3 separate regions of the Homo sapiens genome follow, and regions 1 and 2 are each linked to region 3. The links are contacts of gene promoters, found by promoter capture Hi-C in human tissues and cell types (Jung and others, 2019). All regions are on one chromosome and are shown on one strand. Each heading gives the region's core, a stretch centred on a gene start or on the middle of the fragment in contact. The rest is flanking DNA. Distances are from core to core; before and after follow the strand shown. Region 1 holds the start of FBXW8 (F-box and WD repeat domain containing 8). Region 2 overlaps FBXW8 (F-box and WD repeat domain containing 8). Region 3 holds the start of RNFT2 (ring finger protein, transmembrane 2).

Region 1 (3,287 bases), core at 514-3,013, 170 kb after region 3:
TGAAGGTTGTCCAAGCCTGGTTTCCCACAGTAAGCAAGCCTGAGCCCTGGGTTTGTAGGCAGCTAGTTTATTTACAGAAGTGATTCTAGAGAAGAGGCCTGAGAGACTAAGAAGAGTTAGACAAGGAATAAGGGACAGTTAATTGCAAGAGCATCTTTGAGCCTGGAGTGGTGGCTCACACCTGTAACCCCAGCACTTTGGGAGGCTGAGGTGGGTGGATCACTTGAGGTCAGGAGTTCAAGACTAGTCTGGCCAACATGGTGAAACCCTATCTCTACTAAAAATACAAAAACTTAGCCAGGTGTGGTGGCGGGCACCTGTAGTCCTAGCTACTCAGGAGGCTGAGGCAGGAGAATGGCGTGAACCCGGGAGGCGGAGCTTCCAGCGAGCCGAGATCGCGCCACTGCACTCCAGCCTGGGCAACAGAGCGAGACTCCGTCTCAAAAACAAAACAAACCAAACAAACAAACAAACAAAAAACCATTTATTGAGCATGTATTAATCACCAGTCTCAAAGCTAAGAGTTGCCAATCTAGAAGGGAAGGGATATATATATATACATAAAAATAAAATTACAAATTGTGTTATGTATTATGATGAGAAGTACAGGATGCTGTGAGAATGAGTAACAGGGATACCTGATGTTTCTTGAGTGGAGGTTGGAAGATTAAGTGAAATGTGAGTTGAGATATGAAAGATGTGTAGGAGTTAACCAAGTCAAGGTGGGGGGAAAAGTTCCCTGCTGAGGGAATATCAGGTGCAAAGAAAACATTTTTAAGTGGAACGCCATCGTATGTCATTTTCTTTCCCATCTTAAAGCCCTTGGATTTCCTTCTGGAAATCTCTCTCCTAAGATCTGACCTTCCCTTGGCTGGTTTCTCTTTCAGATTTTTAAAAAAAAATTTTTATTTCCACAGGTTATTGGGAACAGGTGGTATTTGGTTACATGAGTAAGTTCTTTAGTGGTGATTTGTGAGATTTTGGTGCACGCATCACCCGAGCAGTATACACTGAACCCAAGTTATAGTCTTTTATCCCTCCCCACCTTCCCACCCTCCCCTCGTCCCCCTCCCCTGTTCCAAAGTCCCATAAGTCATTCTTATGCTTTTGCATCCTCGTAGCTTAGCTCCCACTTATATGTGAGAACATACGATGTTTGGTTTTCCATTCCTGAGTTACTTCACTTAGAATAATAGTCTCCAATCCCATCCAGGTTGCTACGAATGCCATGAATTCATTCCTTTTTTATGGCTGAGTAGTATTCCACCATATGTATATATCAGTTTCTTTATCCACCTGTTGATTCTCTTTTAGATTTTAATTTAAATAACATCTTAAACAGACTTTCACTATCAATCCTTACTCCCCTTACCTTACCTTATTTTGTTTTCTTCCTAATACCTATCACTGATTTAAATGTTCATATTTCTTTGTTTAAAGTCTCCCTACTTAAACGCATGCTCCAAGACGTCAGAGTTTTTGTTTTGTTTTACAGATTTAAATGCTGAATTCTTGGTGCCTGGCATATAGTAGTTGCTGAATGAATGTTTGTTGAATGAAGGAACAATGCTTGGCGCAAAGTCAGAGCTTAGCAAAAGTGATAGGCAGCAGAGCTGACGGGCTGAGGGGCAGCTGCGTAAACCTCTGCTTTGGGCGCCACAAGCCACAAGCCGGACCACCACGTGCGTACAGGGGCAGCGCCGGGGGCGTGGCGGGGGCGTGGACGCCCACCCGGAACCCTAGAGCGGCGGCGGCAGCGGCTTCCGGCCGCGGCGGACACTTCCCTGGGCGGGACTGTCTCGTGGCACCCGGTGGAACCGAGGAGAACGTGGAGCGCCGGGAGCGGCGAATATGGACGACTACAGCCTGGATGAGTTCCGTCGGCGCTGGCAGGAGGAGCTGGCGCAGGCCCAGGCGCCGAAGAAGCGGCGACGGCCCGAGGCTGCCGAGAGGCGGGCTCGGCGGCCGGAGGTGGGCTCCGGGCGCGGCGAACAGGCCTCGGGGGACCCGGCGCTGGCCCAGCGTCTCCTGGAGGGCGCGGGGAGGCCCCCGGCGGCGCGGGCGACTCGGGCCGAGGGGCAGGACGTAGCGAGCCGCTCACGTTCTCCTCTGGCCCGCGAGGGCGCCGGGGGCGGGGAGCAGCTGGTGGACCAGCTCATCCGCGACCTGGTGAGTGGCCGTCGCCTCCCCCCCGCCCATGCCTGCGCCGGCCCCCGCCCCCAGGACAAACCCCTGCAGTGATTTGGAGAGTAACTGTGTGCCACTAGTTGCCCGAGAAAATGAGTAGACGCACAAACACCAATGTTTGTGCTTGCATAGGGGTCTTTCTGGAAGCAGCACTTCCCAACCAGGGCGATTTTGTTCCCCCAGATGTGGCAGTGTCTGCAGACATTTTTGGGTGCCTCATCGGGGTGTGTATGTGTGCATGTTACTGGGCATCTAGTGGGTAGAGGCCAGAGATGCTCCTGAACATCCTACAGTGTACAGGACACCACGCACAAAAAAATTATCCAGGACAAAATATCAGTAAGTGTGGGGTTGAGAAATCCTGCTCTTGAAGGCTACCTAAACTTTGAACAAAGGTTGCCTTTGAAAAGGAGGACCCAGATGATGGATAGGAAGTAATTTTACCTTTGTATACTGTTTGCACTATTTAATTTTTGTAACCGTGCACGTATTCAAAAAAATTATCTCAGAAAAAAAGGAAGAAGAGGAGGAAGAATCTCCTGGGCACTTTCATTAGGATAGAGTTTCTTATCTTTTTGTGGGGCGTGGATACCTTGGAGAATCTGGAGGAAGCTGGGGACCCTGTGTCCGTTAAAAATAATCCCCTTCAGAAAGTTGGGAAAATCAAGAACACCTGAAATGCATCCGTGGCTCCCAGGTTAAGAGGACAAGGCTCCAGGTTCTAATGGTTTGATTTAAATTAGGCCCAAAGGAAGTCCCTACAGCTTTACAATTGGGAACCCACTTTTTTTTTTCCTGTTTTTTTTTTTTTTTCTTTCTTTCTTTCTTTTCTGAGACAGGGTCTTGCTCTGTTGCCCAGGCTAGAGTGTACTGTTGCTCTCCCGGCCCACTGCAGCCTCAAACTGCCTGGCTCAAGCCATCCTCTTCCCTCAGCATCCCGCGTAGCTGGGACTACACGCATGCGCCACCACACTCAGCTAATTTTTTAAATTTTTTGGTAGAGACAAGGTCTCCCTGTATTGCCCAGTCTGGTCTCAAACTCCTGGGCCCAAGTGATCCTCCCAATTGAGAATCATTCTTTTTTTTTTTTTTTTTTTTTG
Region 2 (3,054 bases), core at 129-2,628, 210 kb after region 3:
GAATTTGCACAGTGAAGTGTTTCCATAGGAGATAACTGTCAAGAGCCGTGTTACATAAAGCTGTTTGAGGCATGACGAGACAGCAGTGTGGTGGCAGTGTTTCTTTCTCACCTGGGAGGCTGGAGATTCAATGGTAGAGAAGGGATGGAACCATTCTCTTTACTCCCATAAAGGTCAATCCTAATAGACTTTGAGATTAACAAGCTTTTGTGCATTACTGATAATGACAAATTGCCTATGTGCCTGTCTGTCCCTACTCACCTCCTAACCTGATTAGTGACCAATACGCTTGATCTGGGCAACCTCACACGGTTTCTAGCAAAGTCAATAAGAGCAGTGTCTCTCTAGTTCAGGGGTTCTCAACCCCAGCACTAGTGACATTTGGGGCCAGCTAATTCGTTTTGTGCGGGGCTGTCCTGTGCATTGCAGGCTGTTGAGCAGTATCTCTGGCCTCTCCCCATTAGACGCCAGTAGCATTCTCTTCCTCCCCCAAGTCATGACAACTAGAAATGCCCCTAGACATTGCTGGATGTCCCCTGGGAATCAAAATCCCCTCCCAGTCGAGAACCACTGTTCTGAGAGTTAGTGTGGCTATCCTTTCTTAGGCTGTTAAGACACCACCACTAAGACAGGTCACGCTGGCCCCACAGTGCCCTTTTCCATCCACCTACGGTAATAAACTCGTCTGGAGGGAGCCCCCAGTCCCTCTTGCCCGTGTGCCTGGGTAGGTCCATGTGATGCACACAGGCAGAAAGGTATGACAAAGAAAGCTGCCCAGATAAACAAGGGGTCAGAAAGCAGAGGGTCTAACCCTGGTGGGAGGGGCTGCGATTTAAGGAAAGCTTGAGAGCTGAATGTTAACGGGGTCCTTTCTCTCCAGAAAGGAGAGATACTTTTGAGATTTACAAGCAGGAGAGTTGGAGATATTTGGCATCCCCAGGCTTGAATTCGAAGATGTCAGACCGTGGTAGAGAAAAGCAGCAGCTGTGTTTTTTGCTTCCTCTTTGGTGATAGAGAAAGCAAGGGAAGAGGACAGGTATGTCCTTGTTGGGCCTGGAGGTGGCAGAAGTGACGATATTTTAAAGACCCATCACCTAGCATTTGGCACTTAGTAACACTTTACAAGTTATATACAATCTAGCTGAATGTCTATTTAGTATTTATTTCTAATGAACAGGAAGTCATGTGTTAGGTAAGTACTCACTACATGGCTGTTGATTGAGTGAACTGGAGCGGACTGCAGGCTGAACCAAACATGAGGGAGACTTCTATTTGGAGCGTGTAAGGTCCATTTCCTGACAGTGTTAACAAGGAGAATTCTAGGAGTGAAATTTTAAATGATGTATCTTTCATTAAATGTAATGGTGGGATTCTTACCAAAATTCTGGAATGAAAGAAAGCCTTATCAAAACATGAAAGGCGGCCCGGCACCGTGGGTCACTCCTGTAATCCCAGCACTTTGGGAGGCTGAGGCGGATGGATCACTTGAGGTTAGGAGTTCCATGGCCAATATGGTGAAACCCCATCTCTACTAAAAATACGAAAATTAGCCGGGCGTGGTGGCACACACCTGTAGTCCCAGCTACTGGGAGGCTGAGATTGGAGAATCGCCTGAACCCTGGAGGTGGAGGTTGCAGTGAGCCAAGATTGCGCCATTGCACTCCAGCCTGGGCGACAGAGCGAGACTGTCTCAAAAAAAAAAAAAAAAAAGAAAAGAAAGAAAGAAATGAAAGGCAGTGTTGGGGCAAGTTGCTTTACTTTTGTCTGCCTCCATTTTCTCATCTCTAGAGTAGGGGCTAGGAGTGGCACTGCTCATGGCGTCATGGTGAGGATGATCGTCATCAAGTGTCTGCCACTCCTGCAGAGCCTGGTCCACGCTCAGTGCTCAGGCGAGGTTGGCTGTAGGAGAGCATAGGCCTCTGCACACAGATGCAGGGTTCTGTGCTGTGCGTGCTCGACTTCAGGATGGGTTAGGCAGGCGATTTGGTTTGGTACCTCTTAAGTCAGTGTCTGGGGAGACCCTAGAAGGGACCCCAGGGTTCTCAGGTACCTCCACAAAGAGAATGGCCTGCAAATGCATGAAGTTATCTGGAATTGCATTTCAGAGCCAACCTGGAAATGATTTGCTAAACTAATTGTGGTGGCCATAGTGTTTTTTTTCCTAGTGTTTGCATAAATGCAGGTTTTCATCTTAGGCCCTCTATTTTTCTTTCAATACTTTTTCCCTCACAAGAGATTTTCTGTTATTGTAACCTTGGTTGCGGCCTTCACACAGCTGACTCCCAGATCCTTGCCTTCCCTCCCCATATCTCCACTTGTAGGACAGCTCCACGTGGATGTGTCTAGTTTTATCTCTCAGCCTTAGACTCATTCCTTGGATTAAGTTAAGACCATCATGCAAATTACTTTGCTCAGTTTCTAGAGTCTAGGTACTTAATAAATGTGTATTTTAATGGAATGATGTCATCTTTTTCCTAATAATAGAAATAATAATAATAATGGCTACCACTTATTGAACACTTGCTGTATGTTAAGAACTGTGCTGGGCACTTACACTGTTTCTAGTCTTTGTCCCAGTCTGGTAAAGTTGAAATTATGGTATTCTTGAATACCTTTATTCATGCTTGCTTTGTGGCCTATCTCACTTTTCCCAACCTCCCACATGTAAATACTTTATGTGCATTCAGATTCCCTTCATTTTAATTCAATTTAATTTTTTATTTTTTTAGAGATAGGTTCTCACTCTCTTGCCCAGGCTGAAGTACAGTGTTGCAATCATAACTCACTGTAGCCTTAAGTTCCTGGACTCAAGTGATCCTCCTGCCTCATCCTCTCAAATAGTTGGGACTACAGGTGCATGCCACCACACCTGACTGTCTTTTAAATTTTTTGCAGAGATGGGGTCTCCCTGTGTTGCACAGGCTGGTCTCAAAACTTCTGAGCTCAAGTGATCTTCCTGCCTCTGCCTCCCAAAGTGCTGGGATTACAGGCATGAGCCACTGTGCCTGGCCTAGACTGTCATTCAAATACCATTTCCATGAAACCTCTGGCCTC
Region 3 (3,100 bases), core at 353-2,852:
TGGACTTCTAGACAAACTTATTAATGCTTTGGGTAAGATTTCCCCACCCGTGCTCCTTGCTGTTTCTCCCAGAAATTCTCACATGGAAGAAAAATGAAAGGGTGCAGTGTGTTGGAGGGGTGGAATTCTACCAATCAAGTTATGCACAAAAAGCATAAAAGGAACTGTGGGTCCTTTTGAGTCACCCAGGAGGACACAGAGCCCCCAAATTAAACGAAGGGCACCCATGCGAGGGCTGGCCGACCCTCGCCACCTATGTCTTGGTTTCCCCCACTGTAATACTGGGAACCCCACTTCTCCCAGGCCTGCTGCGAAGATGAAGCCAGCAAATGCACGCCCTCTCTTAGCTCTGGACCGGGCAGGTGAAAAGCAGGGAGGTGTTCATAAAAGCAGTCCCCACCGCTGAAGGGTCCTCAACTCGGGGTTCTAGTCCCAGCTCTGCCCTGGCCTAGCAACCCCTTCCCGCTGCAGGGACCAAGGCGGTGGGCAGGTCCCTCACCCGTGCTGAGACCGGGACAGGAATGCGCACCTCTCCCCACCCTCGGACGCCCCGGCGGCGCCGCTGCAGAAGTCGGGAGGTCGGACAAACGCGAGGAGTAAGGAAAAAGAGGAGGAAGGGAAGGAAGGAGGAAGAACGAAGTGAGGAAAGAGGATGTCAGGGAAGAAAGGGAGTAAAGGAAGAAGGAAGGGAGAGGGGGACAGAAAGGAGGAGGACGGAAGGAGGAAGGGAAGGAAGAAAGACGGAAGGGAAGGGAGAGGAAAAAGGGGAGGAAAGAAGAAAGGGAAGGGGGAGGAAGGAAAGGGGGAGGAAGGAAGGAGGAGGAAGGTGAGGAAGGTAAGGAAGGAAGGGAGGCAGGGAGAGGGGAAGGAAGGAGGAAGATAAGGAAGGAGGGGAGGTAGGAAGAAGGGAAGGAAGGAGGAAGGAAGGGAAGGGGAGAAAGAAAGGAAGGGAAGGGGTAGGAAGACAGGGAGGAAGGAAAAAAGGAGGAAGGTAACGAAGGAAGGAAGGAGAAAGTAAAGTAAGGGGGAGGAAGGAAGGAAGAAGGGAAGGGGAGGAGGGGAAGGGCGGCCACTGACCTGCTTGAAGGTGCTGCTGAGGAAGTAGACGAGCGACAGCCCGAAGACCAGGGCGAGCACCCACCTCTTCCGCAGAAGCCGGCGCCACACCATGGCCGCCAGGTTCACCATCCCGGCGCGGACGTGGGGCGCGGCGGCCGGGGCGCGGAACGCGGCAGGCCCGGGTCCCGGGCGGCATGGCCCCTACGCGCCCGGCAGCCCCATCCCTCCAGGCAGGCGCCGGCCCCGCCGCCCGCAGCCCAGTCTGCTCCCGGCAGCCTTGGGCGCAGCCCCACGTGACCCCGCCCTACGCCCCGCCTCCGCTCCGCAGCGACAAGGGCTAGTCGCGCAAGATCTTCTCACCATTGGTCCCTAAGGAACGGCGGCCTCCTATTGGTTAAGTGCCGGGAAAGGGGGCGGACAATCGCGTGAGTGCTGCGGGCGTAGCTGTGCCCGGGTCCTAGCGCCGGACCCGGCGACGCCAAGAAACCACCCAATAGGAGGCCGGAAGCATCGGAAGTCACATGCTGCCCAGGCTGCGCGGGTGATTGGCTTGGCTGGACCTGAATGATGCGGCTGTGATTGCTGAATTGTCTGGGCAGGTAAAAAGAGAACGCGATTTTTTTTTCTTTTCTCCCATCATGGTCTGTGTAGTCTCCTGCCCTTGCAGTCCCAGAGCGTTTTGCGCTGTGTGTTGGTTGCAGGGATGAAAAGCGCTCGCGACGTTGTTCCCGAAGTGCACCTGCCGGCTTCCAGTCCAAGTGATGCAGGCGATGCTCCTCTGAGTGCATTTCGGTGCAGTCCTGTAACGGGCCCCAGGGGCGCAACTTGAACCATCGCAAGCATCGAAAAGTCTCGGTGCGGTCCTTCAAAGGGACATAGTGGGATGTACAGAGCAGAGGATTAAAAAGCGTTTCATTCATTCAGATGCATCCCGCGTGCAAAAATTTATTCCAGAATTATGTACGGCCTGCTTCCGACAAAGAATCCGAAGCCTCTTCCAATACAAGCATCCGAAAGTAGAGTTTCGAGCATTCGATTTAGGAGTTAAATGTGTGGATGAGAACTTTGGAATATGAATTTTATTTTCCCCCAAGGATTTGCAATGTGGGATAATGGAGGGAGGGGCGAGAGGAGGATTAAGTTGAGATTGCAAATTCTTGAAAAATATTTATATAATGACCTTTTCTTGATATATGAAGATGCTGCTGCTGACCGGTTTGTTACCTAATTTTTCAAAAGAGAAAGGAGGCTTCACTGGCGGGTCATTTTTAATCAGTGGCCCTAGTGACACCATTGCTGCCCCCTCAAGAAGCCTGGTCAGGATTAGGAAGTCATTCAACAGCCAATAATCGTGCCCTAAACTGAAGTCAGACACCATCTGACTGATATAGACACCCTATATCCACAATATTGGCTCTGCCTCCAGAGACAAGAAGATATTCACGGAGGCTAAACCTTTTCATGGGAAGTAGATGGCCCTTATTACCTTGCTAGGGTGAAAGGTGGGACAGGGAGCAAGGGATCTAGAAAAGGGGAACTGGGAGACCCATAGATGTTTTATTCATTGAGTAAATACTTGTTGAGCGCCACTCTGTGCCAAACAGTGTCCTGGATGCTGAGGCAGAGGGGTGATCCAAGTAGACAGGATCCCTACTTTCAGGAATGGCATTTATATTCTAATGGGGAGGACAAATCATAAATAAATAAGCAAACATGAACAAATAAGTGCTATGAATAATATAAAACAGGGCAATATTACGGGGAGTCAGGAGAATGAGAAGAGAAGGCCTCTGGGAAGAGACGACATTTGCCCTGCGGGACCAAGCCCTGCCACATTTAGAGGAGAAAGTATTCCAAGGGGAGGGCACAGCAAGTGCAAAGGCCCTGAGGCAGGGACACGCTGACACATTAGAGGAACAGAAGGGCCACTGTGGGTGGACAGGAGTGGGAAAAGGGAGAATGGGAGGAAATGCAGTTGGAAACAGATGATGCTACATCAGGAAGAACCCGTAGGCTATGGACAGAGCTCGGGTTTGATTCT

Evidence for each region. Contacts are between HindIII fragments. The study calls those that stand out against the background at their distance.
Region 1: the fragment with the promoter of FBXW8 here is called in contact with the fragment with the promoter of RNFT2 in region 3 in 4 of the 25 tissues and cell types used here (adrenal gland, aorta, heart left ventricle and 1 more).
Region 2: a fragment that was not itself captured here is called in contact with the fragment with the promoter of RNFT2 in region 3 in 3 of the 25 tissues and cell types used here (H1 embryonic stem cells, dorsolateral prefrontal cortex and liver).

The regions. Positions count from the first base shown.
Region 1 is chr12:116,909,187-116,912,473 of GRCh38, forward strand. FBXW8 (F-box and WD repeat domain containing 8) reads left to right here and starts at 1,764. Exons shown (of 11, transcript NM_153348.3): 1 at 1,764-2,169. The coding sequence starts at 1,852. RefSeq lists silencers at 1,592-1,811, 1,972-2,231. The HindIII fragment of the contact is 14,688 bases long and covers 1-3,287 here.
Region 2 is chr12:116,946,045-116,949,098 of GRCh38, forward strand. The region is part of intron 3 of FBXW8 (F-box and WD repeat domain containing 8); the gene reads left to right. Among named protein-coding and RNA genes, the nearest start is that of FBXW8, 37 kb to the left of the region's middle. The HindIII fragment of the contact is 5,462 bases long and covers 1-3,054 here.
Region 3 is chr12:116,736,713-116,739,812 of GRCh38, forward strand. RNFT2 (ring finger protein, transmembrane 2) reads left to right here and starts at 1,603. Exons shown (of 11, transcript NM_001382266.1): 1 at 1,603-1,658. It overlaps SPRING1 (SREBF pathway regulator in golgi 1), which reads right to left and starts at 1,357. Exons shown (of 5, transcript NM_024738.4): 1 at 1,078-1,357. The coding sequence starts at 1,188. RefSeq lists enhancers at 1-857, 1,626-1,885 and silencers at 1,046-1,095, 1,176-1,435. The HindIII fragment of the contact is 23,901 bases long and covers 1-3,100 here.